3 separate regions of the Homo sapiens genome follow, and all the other regions are linked to region 1. The links are contacts of gene promoters, found by promoter capture Hi-C in blood cells and fetal thymus (Javierre and others, 2016). All regions are on one chromosome and are shown on one strand. The core of a region is centred on a gene start or on the middle of the fragment in contact, and the rest is flanking DNA. Distances in the headings are between cores, read along the strand shown. Region 1 holds the start of OR51V1 (olfactory receptor family 51 subfamily V member 1). Region 2 holds the start of OR52E8 (olfactory receptor family 52 subfamily E member 8). Region 3 overlaps LOC112268071 (a long non-coding RNA gene).

What was found. The method cuts DNA at HindIII sites, captures the fragments that hold promoters and counts their contacts. A CHiCAGO score of 5 or more calls a contact.
Region 2: the fragment with the promoter of OR52E8 here is called in contact with the fragment with the promoter of OR51V1 in region 1 in 4 of 17 cell types (naive CD8 T cells, activated CD4 T cells, neutrophils and 1 more); the score reaches 7.2 in naive CD8 T cells.
Region 3: a fragment that was not itself captured here is called in contact with the fragment with the promoter of OR51V1 in region 1 in 3 of 17 cell types (naive B cells, monocytes and neutrophils); the score reaches 7.4 in naive B cells.

Annotation. Positions count from the first base shown.
Region 1 is chr11:5,197,710-5,202,287 of GRCh38, reverse strand. OR51V1 (olfactory receptor family 51 subfamily V member 1) reads left to right here and starts at 1,606. Exons shown (of 1, transcript NM_001004760.3): 1 at 1,606-2,553. The coding sequence starts at 1,606. The coding sequence ends at 2,553. The HindIII fragment of the contact is 3,813 bases long and covers 731-4,543 here.
Region 2 is chr11:5,855,277-5,860,098 of GRCh38, reverse strand. It overlaps OR52E8 (olfactory receptor family 52 subfamily E member 8), which reads left to right and starts at 2,409. Exons shown (of 1, transcript NM_001005168.3): 1 at 2,409-3,350. The coding sequence starts at 2,409. The coding sequence ends at 3,350. The HindIII fragment of the contact is 1,911 bases long and covers 1,542-3,452 here.
Region 3 is chr11:5,910,606-5,915,301 of GRCh38, reverse strand. All of the region lies in intron 2 of LOC112268071 (a long non-coding RNA gene), which reads left to right. Among named protein-coding and RNA genes, the nearest start is that of OR52E5, 20 kb to the right of the region's middle. The HindIII fragment of the contact is 1,523 bases long and covers 2,359-3,881 here.

The sequences.
Region 1 (4,578 bases), core at 357-2,856:
ACAGAGATATTAGTTAAATATTTAGTTTAAATATTAGTTAAATATTTAGCTAATAAATACAAAATTATAAGTTTTATTTAAAATTGAAACATGATACCAAAATAATAGATATATGGATAAATTTGTCTTAAGAAACTTCTTGAAAAGTGATTGTTGAGTTGCAAGATCGTTTTAAAAAGGGTAGGAAGAAATTGAGGAAAAGATGATGAATAATTTAGGCAGATAGAACATTTCGAGAAAAATTTTACGAAAGAAGAGAAATTCGATTTAGAGAAATGAAAGAAGATACGTATTCAAAAGACTGAAAAATCCTCTGCAAGAAACGAAGAAACTTCAAGCATTCTATGGAGAAAAAAGTATTAAAAATAGTGAGCTAAGTTATTCAATGCTGAGAAGGAGTCAGGGCAAGAAAAACAATGGTTAGACTGCTAGAAGACGTCAGTGTAGTATAGAGAGTACATTGAGAAGAAAGTCTGTGGAACTGTGTTGTGAGGCTAATAAGACAAAGCTGAAAAGTAGGACATAAAGGGCAGCCCAAATCTGAAGTTACTTTAACATCTCGAAGTTACTCAATCAAACATGAAAGTATGGACTTTTGAACATCTGTTTACATTATTAGAGCTTTAAAAAAACTTATGATGATTCTCAGGTCTGGAACTTAAAGCAGGCAAACAATGTAAAGAAGAAGCCAATTGATTCTGCTACCATGAGGCTTTTGAAATTATAAGCTTGCTTGTTTGAGCCTGGCTTTGTGATCTGTAGAACTGCAGGTTCTAAGAAAGAAAACACAATTGGCCAATACATTGAATAAATGTATATTGAATAAATAGTTAATCAGCTCATTAACTGAATAAATAAAGGAATGGGAAGCACTGAGCTGCTATCAAAGGCTCAGTGTCTTCAATCTAATTCTCTACATCACAAAGGCACAAATGAGTTGAACATCTCAAGAGGCCAGAGCTCCAGTGAGAAATCATTTACCCAAGGTCTCATGCATAAATATTCCTGTCTGCTTATCACCAATGAAGAAAAAGTAATTGCTGGCTACGTCATCTGGAGGGGGAGAAAACAGGAGTATCTTCATTAAATAGTATTTGGAGAAAAAATATACTTGGAGACGGCACAAAATGGAAAATGACGGAAAAGTGACTATTTAATAGACTTATGATATTTAAAGCCCAAAGATTACTCTTCACTTCGAATGTTTAATGAATTGGAGAGAAGAAAATAATTTTTCAAGAACCTCGGCTCTTTACTGGTATAAAATTTTTACCACTATCCTTGGGAAAATGTCTAAGCAACGTATTTTTTTAAAACTAGCCTTCTCCTTTTACTAATCTCTTCCTTATTTGTTTTTGCTTATGGCTTCTAAGGATATGTTCACATCCAGACAGTGAAAAAATAATGACTTTTAAATGACATCAAAAGAAGACCATTTTCTCAAAGGCAATGGATACTATGTCTCAAAGAAACAGAATTTCTCAGCTGTTTTTTTTAAGTCAGTAAGTTTTAGGGTATTTCATTTACTTAGAAATTTCATTGTATTCAGGTGAAATTGAAACATTTCCTTTGAAAAAATACTCTCACATGTTTCTCAGTTCCAGAATGATTACTTCAGTAAGCCCTAGCACCAGCACGAATTCTTCCTTTCTTCTCACTGGATTTTCTGGCATGGAGCAGCAATACCCCTGGCTTTCCATCCCCTTCTCCTCAATCTATGCCATGGTGCTTTTGGGCAATTGCATGGTTCTCCATGTGATATGGACTGAGCCAAGCCTGCACCAGCCTATGTTTTACTTCCTGTCCATGCTGGCCCTCACTGACCTGTGCATGGGGCTGTCCACTGTGTACACAGTGCTGGGGATCCTGTGGGGGATCATTCGAGAGATCAGCTTGGATTCCTGCATTGCCCAGTCCTATTTCATCCATGGTCTGTCCTTCATGGAGTCCTCTGTCCTCCTCACTATGGCCTTTGACCGGTACATTGCAATTTGCAATCCACTACGTTATTCCTCCATCCTGACTAATTCCAGAATTATCAAAATTGGGCTCACTATAATAGGTAGGAGTTTTTTCTTTATTACACCCCCCATCATCTGTCTGAAATTTTTTAATTACTGTCATTTCCACATCCTTTCTCACTCTTTCTGCCTGCACCAGGATCTTCTCCGCTTAGCCTGTTCAGACATCCGATTCAATAGTTACTATGCCCTGATGCTGGTTATTTGCATACTGTTGTTGGATGCTATACTCATCCTTTTCTCCTACATCCTGATTCTTAAGTCAGTCCTGGCAGTTGCCTCTCAGGAAGAGAGGCATAAATTATTTCAGACCTGCATCTCCCACATCTGTGCTGTCCTTGTGTTCTACATCCCTATCATTAGCCTCACAATGGTGCACCGTTTTGGCAAGCACCTTTCCCCCGTGGCCCACGTTCTCATTGGCAACATCTACATCCTTTTCCCACCTTTAATGAATCCCATCATCTACAGTGTCAAGACCCAACAGATTCATACCAGAATGCTTAGACTCTTTTCTCTGAAAAGATATTGAGAGATATTGAGATGTATTGCCTAAAAAAAAGAAAGAAAAGCAGCAACAATAATAAACAAAAATCAGTGCCATAAAAAAGAAAAAATTATTAAAATTGTAGATTTACTCTGAGTCCATGACAAATGACCTTAAAAAATATTTAAATATAGTCAGAGAATCAACAAACAAGTTCCATTGTGTCAGCCTGGACACATGTAGGTCACTCTATCAGTCTGACCATATTTAAGAAAGAGGAAAAAATTGTTTATTTGCCTGAAATGTACTTTTGAGCATTTCCTTTGCTGTAAAACAAAGCTGGATTAAAAACCTAGGTTTTCAAGTTTCAAAGTAGAAAACTTGAAGTTTCTTTCATTCTCTGAGGTTTACTTAATTAACCTTCAAAATGGAGACTATAGCCAACTCACAGGAATGTTGTGATATCTGTATGGACCAGAATTGTCCAAGGGAACTTTTCTAAACTGATGGCGATGTTCTATAAAATACCATAAAATGGCTAAAGTGGAATATATGGCTCCTGTGCGCTTGAAATGATGGTAGTGTAATTGAACAACTGCATTTACAATTTCAGTTACTTTAAGTTAATTTATATTTAAATGTTTAATGTCCTTGTATTGGACAGTTCAGTTCAGCAGCCACTATATTGGACAGGGAAGCTACAGTTCATAAAGAGGACACAAAGAAATATGACTTTGGATTCAACTTCTACCATGTCTAATTTAAATTAGAATCCTTATTTTTTAGATTTTATATGTGGACTCCACTGCTACAAGGCTGGAAGCAGATTTTGCTCTAGATCTTTTGCTTTTATATCTAAGTGGGGGATCTTCTGAACAGATGAGACTGTCCGCTACCGACTTATTCTGAGTTTAAAAGAAAAAAGATAAAAGAACATAAAGCGGTTCTTTTCTAAGTAAGCTAGTGCAGCTTTCCAAAGAAGGAAAGAAAGGAAGGAAATCAGGTACAAAACTATGCATGGATAACAAGAAAATAATTGTTTTAATCTTCCTATATTCTATTAGGTATCTAAGAAGGTAAGTGTTAAAATTGGACAAATTAATGCATAAGAGTCATTTTACACCAAAAAGCAAATATTTATTTTTATTTTTAGATATCAACTAAAACAACCAGATTTGTCTTCCTGTAATTATGCCTTCCTTTCCTTTCACTTTGGACTTCATTCAATAACATAGCCTCTGTCTACTTATTTGACTCAGAGGGAAACAAAAATACAGGCTTTGGTTTCTAATAGCTTAAGCCTCAAAGTGAGGAAATTGTTTCTGGACAGAGTAAAGTATCTGGTTAGAAAGATAAGTGTAAAATTATTCCTAGAACAATAAATTAGGTCTTCTGGGTTACAGTATAAGGTTAATTTGAAGGATAAAGGAGTGAATTTCCTGATGTCAAAGAGGATCTAGTGCATCTTCTGGTATAGCTATCAGAAGTGAAAACTGTGAGGTAGGTTCTAGAGGGGAAAATGTCAATATATATATTTTTTACTATATAATCATAGTAGCTGCCGAGGCGGGCGGATCATGAGGTCAGGAGATCGAGACCATCCTGGCCAGCAATGGTGAAACCCCGTCTCTACTAAAAAAACACAAGAAAGTATCCAGGCGTGGTGGCGGGCACCTGTAGTCCCAGGTACTCGGGAGGCTGAGACAGGAGAATGGCGTGAACCCGGGAGGTGGAGCTTGCAGTGAGTCGAGATCACGCCACTGCACTCCAGCCTGGGCGACAGAGAGAGACTCTGTCTCAAAAAAAAAAAAAAAAAGAGAAAAAAAAAGAAAAGTTGATATGAATGTCAGGTGGTAGTACTGCTCCAGGTTCCCTAATGATAATAAATGTCTGCATGGTCCCTCCTGGCCGACTGGAATGTGGCCAATCTGACAAGATTCCTATGCCCCAGTTTTATAATGAAAAGAGAAGTTAGCTGCTGAATCTGTAGAGGTCATGTGAATGTCTCATAGATTTCTCAATGGCCAAAGAAGCTTCCTTCTAATGCTTTGAAAGTGAATAAGCATCCAC
Region 2 (4,822 bases), core at 1,160-3,659, 660 kb before region 1:
ATTTTATTTTTAAATCCAGCAGAGATTGGAAGATATGTAAATATGTGTTGAAATAATGGTTAAGTAAACATTTATTGGATAATTAATTGATTGGTTGCTTTGATCAGTATTTATAAACTTGGAAATGATGTTGTCCTAGGGAGAAGGGAAGCATTAATTTCCAAATCTTCTTTTAAAATCCACAGAGATACATGGGATAAGTTGCTATCCTTGGAATGTAGCCATATTTTTATTTTTTCAGTTCATGCTGTATGGAGCCCCTAAACATGACCAAGACATCAGACTTAATAAGAATCTCTGGATAAGACCATTGAAGAGGATGACTGATTTCATTTTTATATCCTAAGTGGCCACTGTGCTTTTTTTCCCACTTTGCCCCTGCTTATTTATACAGAATAAAATTTTCTTTCTTTTTTGTCAGAAGAATTTCTCTGTAAGTCAGCATAAGCCTAACTTCCTCTATACAATTTTTCTTGACTCACCTCTACATTTAAAACATCCTGTGCACATTTCTACCATAGCACTTGCAGTACAGTTCTTAAATTTCATGTTTGGAATTTTATCTTCTTTACTACGTGGTGATTTCCTTAAGGATATATGACCAGTTTTATTCATTTTTTGTATTTAAACTTCCTAATTACCACTGATACATAGAGAACCTCTTCAATATTTGATGGGATAAATTGTGAAAGGTATTTCGCTGCCTATTTTGTGTATTCTCAATTAGTGAAAAACAGGAAGTTTATACCCTTATCTCTGATAGTTTCACCCAAGTTTATACACACACATTCTCTCTCTCTCTCTCTCTCTGAAATAATTTCCCAAATTATCAAATAATCTCTCATTTTTGCTATTCTTCGTATGCTTCAAATAGGTACTACCAGCAATGCATTTTTGTTGTTACAGGATTAAAGTAGAACTTGCTGACATTCACACACTTTTATCTCTGCTGCGTACGTCTCAATTCTGACTTCCCCCAATGTTCAAGTATTCTTAAATTGTAATCAATGCTTTTTGTGTAGTTGCCACGTCACATTTAACCAATTCCGCATTATCTGTAAAACTAGTTTTTCCCAAGTAAAAGTAAGTTGCGCAGTAATGAACTTTTTGCTTCAAATTTTGAATTTACTATCTGTAAATTCAGGATTTACTATCCGTAAATTCAGGATTTACTATCTGTAAATTCAGGATTTACTATATTGGAGACATCCATAGAGACAAAACAGCTGGGATAGAATTTGAGTAGCAGCTAAACTGTAGGTCATCCAAAGGGCTTCTACTTTCTTCCCATGAATATAAGACTGAGATATATTTGAAAATTTTGTAGCCCAGAATATTTAGTTTCCTTGCCACAGAAAAAGCTGGCCTATATATAAACAGTTTCTTTACTGAATGCGTGTATTTATGCACTCTCCAAATAATAGGATTATCTAGATTAAAATTATCTCTTCATCCATGTTCCATCATAGCTGCAAAATACTCTTTGTCAAGTATTTTCTTTTCCTTGTTTTTACCCATTTTCCAAATCCGATGGATAAGCTTCTTTTCTCAAACACAGGTGTGATGGAAACTAAATTATTTATTTCCTAAAATATGACATTAAAATTACCCACAGTTTTGCCTCCTTGTAATCAATGTCTATTTGTGGAGGTTTTAAATTGAGAACTATTATGTAGCAGATCTTTTTCCTGCATATGAGCAAGATAAATTGTTTCTTCTCTCAGAAGTATACAGTCTAGTAGTCACAAATTGTATACAGTATACACAGTCTAAATTGTATACAGAAGTATACAGTCTAGTAGTCACAAACTGTATACAGTATATACAGCCTAAATTGTATACAGAAGTATACAGTCTAGTAGTCCCAAATTGTATACAGTATAGTCTAAATTGTATATAGAAGTATACAGTCTAGTAGTCACAAATACCTGTAAAAATGCATAACAACACAGAAACGGTTTTACACACTACATTTTTGATTCCCAAATAGAGGAATAGTTGAGATTACAAATACCTTGATCGTGAAGCAAAAATATGTGTAACATTTCTATAGACACTGACCCTGGAACTTTATTTTTCTCATTTAGTTCTGGCTAAATTCCAGATTTTGCATTTTTATTTGGCAGATGACATTCTTCTGCCATTTCTTTTTATATTAGTCTTTGATATTAGGTGAAGGGGCAGTAGAATAAGACTGGTTCTATTCCTGGTACCAATGTTGCTCAGGAGAGGCTAGGAGAAATTGTGGAGAGTATTTTACCTTACTCATGAATATATATAAAGAAAGATTAATATGTTATTGTGAATTTGACTAGAAATCTGAACAAAAGAAGAAGTGGAACAAGAATTACTAATAGGAATATTATAATCGTCGCTGGTGTGCCCAGCAGCTTTATATGGCAGGAAGAATGTCTACGTCTAATCACACCCAGTTCCATCCTTCTTCATTCCTACTGCTGGGTATCCCAGGGCTAGAAGATGTGCACATTTGGATTGGAGTCCCTTTTTTCTTTGTGTATCTTGTTGCACTCCTGGGAAACACTGCTCTCTTGTTTGTGATCCAGACTGAGCAGAGTCTCCATGAGCCTATGTACTACTTCCTGGCCATGTTGGATTCCATTGACCTGGGCTTGTCTACAGCCACCATCCCCAAAATGTTGGGCATCTTCTGGTTCAATACCAAAGAAATATCTTTTGGAGGCTGCCTTTCTCACATGTTCTTCATCCATTTCTTCACTGCTATGGAGAGCATTGTGTTGGTGGCCATGGCCTTTGACCGCTACATTGCCATTTGCAAACCTCTTCGGTACACCATGATCCTCACCAGCAAAATCATCAGCCTCATTGCAGGCATTGCTGTCCTGAGGAGCCTGTACATGGTTGTTCCACTGGTGTTTCTCCTTCTGAGGCTGCCCTTCTGTGGGCATCGTATCATCCCTCATACTTATTGTGAGCACATGGGCATTGCCCGTCTGGCCTGTGCCAGCATCAAAGTCAACATTAGGTTTGGCCTTGGCAACATATCTCTCTTGTTACTGGATGTTATCCTTATTATTCTCTCCTATGTCAGGATCCTGTATGCTGTCTTCTGCCTGCCCTCCTGGGAAGCTCGACTCAAAGCTCTCAACACCTGTGGTTCTCATATTGGTGTTATCTTAGCCTTTTTTACACCAGCATTTTTTTCATTCTTGACACATCGTTTTGGCCATAATATCCCACAGTATATACATATTATATTAGCCAACCTGTATGTGGTTGTCCCACCAGCCCTCAATCCTGTAATCTATGGAGTCAGGACAAAGCAGATTCGAGAGAGAGTGCTGAGGATTTTTCTCAAGACCAATCACTAACCAGTTGGAGGTTGGAGAGTCTGTCACTCTAACCTAATAGAAAGCAGAAAAACAGAAGGGAATGCTGCAGCCAATAACATTATTTATCTGTTAACTGAAGCTTTTGACTTTAATTATAATAATGAGAATTTTACCCTTGTCGAACTCTCCTTTTCCAAGTTCTTTTATTTCTATTGCTGGATCCTCAAGGCAGTTTTATAAAGTATGTATTAGTTTTTCCATTCTTGTGATTAATATACTTATGTTCGGAAAAGTTGAGTGATTTACTCAAACTACATGTTTAATAGGAAGTAGTAATTTAAGCCAAATAGACTGCCTTATAGTTTTCTTTAGTATGTTTAAGAAATAACAGAATACGGAATAAAATTCTTACTTTAAAAAGATAATAAACAGAATAAGTGGCTTCTAGAATTCTTAAAATAATAATAATAGCTTACTCTAGTAATAATATTAACATACCATAGATGCAGTGTAGATATATGGGTATTGACAGGTATACCACACATGAATATACTCATATCATGCCCACCATAATCTTATTCAATAGTTACTATAATTTCCCTCATGCACCTAGAGATGCAAGCATAGTCATAAAATTAGATATTAAAGGAAAAAGGAAATAATGCAGCATGAGCATGACATATACATTCGTAAATATTTCATTCATTTGCTTGTTTAATTATTTAAATAATATTTACATAATATATTTTTACATATATGAATATATGTGCGTGTGCGTGTGCATACTTCTACTATGTTTCATGTGTGGGTTTATGAGCTGTAGGAACATTCGAAGACACAGTGTATTGTCTTTAAGTACTTATATACTTTGAGAAAAAAGAAATAATAAGTTGTTTCTAAAGTAGTGTTGAGACATATTTTTTTTTTCTTCAGGAGATTTGGAAATTGTGTGGCTATTAGCAGTTTCATTCATAATGAAATTTATAATCCCTTAAAAAACTTGGAGGAAGATAATTGCAGGAAGAACACCTTGAATGTAAGTTCTTTATTGCTGCTCTGCCTGCCATTTATACAGTTAAGATATAGGATTAGGCAGTAGACCACAACAAGTGGCATGTGCAGACTATAAAGCAAAGACACTTAAATTTAGCTGTGATTCAATGATCTCCTATAGAAAGCAGCCCTTAGGTCAATCACTGGGTGAACAGATAGGAGCAGAATGCGCTCTGTGGAAATTAAGGGTTTAGGACCAGAGTCTACCATTTTCTTATGGGAGATTCCAGAGAGTGATGACATGGAGGATCTCCCTCTCTTGGCTTCAGGCGAGGTTCTACTTGTCGTATAAATCTTTCCTCCTCAGGGTCACAGCCCTGCAACTGGGCAGGTGTTTACTGGTAGAATGTAGGATGGAAGGCTGTGGAAGTACTTGATGGTTTCTTTCTTGGAGAAGATTCTCTGGCCATGGCAAGACAGTTGAGTGTATTCTAAAGACATCTCAGTAGACAAGGTAG
Region 3 (4,696 bases), core at 1,871-4,370, 710 kb before region 1:
TGTTAGTTTTCCTTCTAACAGACAGGACCCTCAGCTGCAAGTCTGTTGGAATACCCTGCTGTGTGAGGTGTCAGTATGCCCCTGCTGGGGGGTGCCTCCCAGTTAGGCTGCTCGGGGTTCAGGGGTCAGGGACCCACTTGAGGAGGCAGTCTACCCGTTCTCAGATCTCCAGCTGCGTGCTGGGAGAACCACTGCTCTCTTCAAAGCTGTCAGACAGGAACATTTAAGTCTGCAGAGGTTTCTCCTTCCTTTTGTTTGGCTATGCCCTGCCCTCAGAGGTGGAGTCAGGCAGGCCTCCTTGAGCTGCGGTGGGCTCCACCCAGTTTGAGCTTCCACGCCACTTTGTTTACCTACTCAAGCCTTGGCAGTGGCGGGCACCCCTCCCCCAGCCTCACTGCCGCCTTGCAGTTTGATCTCAGACAGCTGTGCTAGCAATGAGCGAGGCTCCGTGGGTGTAGGACCCTCCAAGCCAAGCGCGGGATATAATCTCCTGGTGTGCCATTTGCTAAGACCATTGGAAAAGCACAGTATTAGGGTGGAAGTGACCCGATTTTCCAGGTGCTGTCTGTCACCCCTTTCTTTGACTAGGAAAGGGAATTCCCTGACCCCTTGCGCTTCCTGGGTGAGGCAGTGCCTTGCCCTGCTTTGGCTCACGCTCGGTGCGCTGCACCCACTGTCCTGCACCCACTTTCTGACACTCCCCAATGAGATGAACCCGGTACCTCAGTTGGAAATGCAGAAATCACCCATCTTCTGCATTGGTCACGCTGGGAGCTGTAGACTGGAGCTGTTCCTATTCGGCCATCTTCAAAAAGTTACCGTATTCTAACATTTTGCTATCATTAATATAAATCAGTAAACATTAGTTGAGCTATGCCCACAATCTTGTGAAAGACAATATTATAAATGTAAAAAAGTTAGGACTTGTGTCCTTTTGATATCAGTATGTACATTAGTAGAAAAATTATTTTCTTGTTTGCATTTACTGTCTACCTATGGTTTCCTAGTACATGCTAGTGTAAAAAGAGGGCTATCAAACAAACAAAAAGGATTGAGTGTGTTAGTTAGAAAAACATTATTTTCATTACTTATTCTGTTAAAACATATTATAATGTCTACTATATTAAAATACACTATAAAACATTCACTTAAAATCGCTTTTATGATGCTTTTAACTGTAAATTGAACTTCAGAGAAGTTTCTCGAGACATAAATCCTCAAAAATTTCTAAAATTATAACTGAATCATATGTATTAACTACTAAAATTTTAAATCAAAATGATTTTCCACAGTGGTCACTATTATATATAGTTACTTGATCAATGTTCGAAAACCATCTGAAATAAACACAAAAGAACTATTTATATAAACCATGTCATCTGAAGTTCAGCAGTGGTTGCAATAACACTTCAGCACAGAATTAGTTCTCTGGATTAATTTTACAGAGGTCCTGGTTGTTACTTGGTTTGTATTTTTATTTTCTTTTATTTTATTACTTTTCTGTTTTCCTAGTGATTCTGTGAGGTATCCATCATCTTTTCAATAATTTTTCTTTGCTTAAAATATCTAGAATTATTTTTTGTTGCTTGAAAGTAAGAATTCTGATTGAAATAGCAGTTAAAGAGGTATGGTGGATATTTCATGTAATAAATATTGAGCTTTTCTTATTTACAAAGATGAACTACATTGTTTTGTACTTTCATAAATGAAGGTGAAGTGGTAGTTAACACCTTGATGCTGGAATTATACTTCCTGGGTTCAAATTTTGGTTTCACTACTTGCTGTGTGTGAAGCCTTTATCAAGTTGTTTTTATGTCTTTGTGCATCTATTTCCTCCTCCGGAAAATAGTCATAAACTTAGCATGTATCTCATGTTAATTGCATTTATTAAATGATGTAACATGAATAATACTAATCATAGTGCCTGATATATGGTACTTTGTAAATATTATCTGTCCCCATTAATAGGAAGTATAATGTATAATGGAAAAGTAGGCATTGAGCCTCACTTCAATACAGTTGTGGTCAGTTATTTCAAAGAAAGAAACTTTCTGGGTGCTACAGTAGAAGCCTGTTACAGTGGAGCCTGACAGCCTAACATAATATTGAAGGTTGGGTAAGGTCATTTTAAGTAAACCTAAGTAGGTTGAACAAGAAAGAAAAATAGGAATCACCTAAGCAAAGAAGGATGAAAAGATTATTTTAGGCAGTGAAAACTACACACATGCAGAGGTTCTGTACTAAGAGAGAAAGCATGTTGAGTTTTAGGAGCAAAGAGAGGAACAATTAAGCTTTGGATAAAAACTTAGGTACTTTTCGTTATTTAATGACAATCTGCTCAACTGTCAATTTGAAGCTTCATCCATCAGTATAAAGGTATATTAAATATGTGTTATGATTGCTTCTCTGACCCAACTGGTCTTCCCAACTGCCCTCCCTTAGATAATCCCAGATTTATTCAAATATTCCAATATTTTGTGAAAAAGCTGACACCTGGGAGGTTCCAGTGGTCAAGAACTCCTGCAGTTACTGAGCAGCATTTTTTCCCTCGTAGGATTATAACTTCAAGTCAGAAAATTCATTTGTTCTCCTCTTTCTTCTGTCTTTTTGTTGGTGGAGAGGAAGTACAATCTTTCTTTTTCCAATTCAAAGACACTGCATTTTCTTACTTCTATTCTCTGTTTAGCATTAACTTTTCTCTTTTTTTATTTTTTATTTTATTTTATTATTATTATACTTTAAGTTTTAGGGTACATGTGCACAATGTGCAGGTTAGTTACATATGTATACATGTGCCATGCTGGTGTGCTGCACCCATTAACTCGTCATTTAGCATTAGGTGTATCTCCTAAAGCTAACTTTTCAAAGGACATATATTTTCTCAAAATACCAGAAGATACCTTGTCTTTCTGTTCTCAATGAATTCTGAAAGTCAATGAGCTACTAAGGATCTGGCTGCTTATTTGGAAACAAAATAATGGAGGATGACATTGGCCGCATAGTCAGGAGAAATAGGACGCTAAAGGCATTCAGTTCTGCCAGCTTGGGACCTGGCAAAACAGTTCTGGAGAAACTTGGAAACCTCAATACAACAGTCGTTGCTAAGCAATAACAAGGCACTGATCAGATCGTCAAGCAACTGACCAAAGAGGAAAAATTTCATAAACAAGTCATTTAAATATGTGGGAAATCATGTAAGAAGGTTTGTGGAAAGTATTAGTGCATCAAACTAGTTTTAAAAAGTTTTACATAACAGAATAATCTGCTCAGTCAGATTAAGTGACAATCACTGTTTGGTCTTGTGAGAAAAGATCAAATGTTATTCATCTCTGCTTTTGGGGAATTAATTGTATAAAGAAGGGCACAATAACTTAAAGTAGAATGATGGCAGTATAATATGGCTGCTATGGTTTGAATGTCCCTCAAGATTCATGTGTTGGAAACTTAAACCCCAATGCAACAGTATTGGGAGGTAGGACCTTTAAGAGGCGATTATGTCACATGGGCCCTGCCCTCATGAATGAATTAGTGCTGCTATCGTGGGAGTGGGTTTGTTATAAAAGCAGATTCAACTCTCCATTTCTAATTCTCTCTCTTCTCTCTTTCTCATGCACATACACTCTTGCCCTTCTGCCTTCTGCCATGAGATGACCCAGTGACAAGGCCTTCACCAGAAGCAGGTCACTTGACCTTGGACTTTCTAGCCTCCAGAGCTGTGAGCCAAATAAAGTTCTATAGTTTATAAATTACCCAGTCTCTGATATCCTGTTATAGTAGCACAAAACAGTACCAGGAAGATTGATATTGGGAGTAGAGTTGTTGCTACAACAAATACCTGAAAATATGGAAGTGGTTTTTGAACTGGGTAATAGATAGAAGCTTGAAGAATTTGGAGAAGCAAGGTAGAAAAAGCCCAGATTGCTGTGAATGGAGCATTAAGCATATTAATTATTTTTATTAGGAAAAAAATGAGAGTCTGAAATCAATTCTATAAGCTTCTGCCTTACAAATCTAGAAAAAGATGGGAAAAGCATATTCAAAAAATAGAAGGAAGAAAATAATAGAAATGAGCCGAACTCAATAAGATAGAAAATGAACAGAAAAAGGAAAAAAAACAAAACCAAAAATGTGCTACTTTGAAAAAAAATCATAGTGTGATACATTTCTTTATACACTATTCAGTCAAGAAAGATAAAAATACAAACACAGAATCAAGACTGAGATTAAGATGGCAAATAGGAGGCTAGTCAGAGACAGGGCAGCATGTAGAGACTCACATCATTAACTTTTCTCCAAGAATTACTGCAGGAACATGCCAGGTAAGCTGAGATAATCCACAGACCCTTTGAAGGAACTGGATTGCTTCTGCAGGCTCCTTGAGATGCCAAAAAACTCTGAATCAGCTTGCTTTCTCAGTGGGGTGGCTGACGGTCTGGGGCAAGTTCTCAGAACTGGTCACCAGCTGCCTGGAAACACTTGGTGTGGTAGGTGGGGCATGATGGAAGTGAGACCAGCATTTAGGACTGTGGCTACATGGGAATGGGGTGAGGCCTGTGACTGCTGTCTTTGTCCCACTTCTCTGGTGACCTGTATGACTCAGCAGAGGCAGCCACAATCCACCAGGGAACATAACTCCATTGGACTGGGAATCACACCCCTATTCCCCACAGCAGCTGCAGCAAGCTCCACCCAAGGA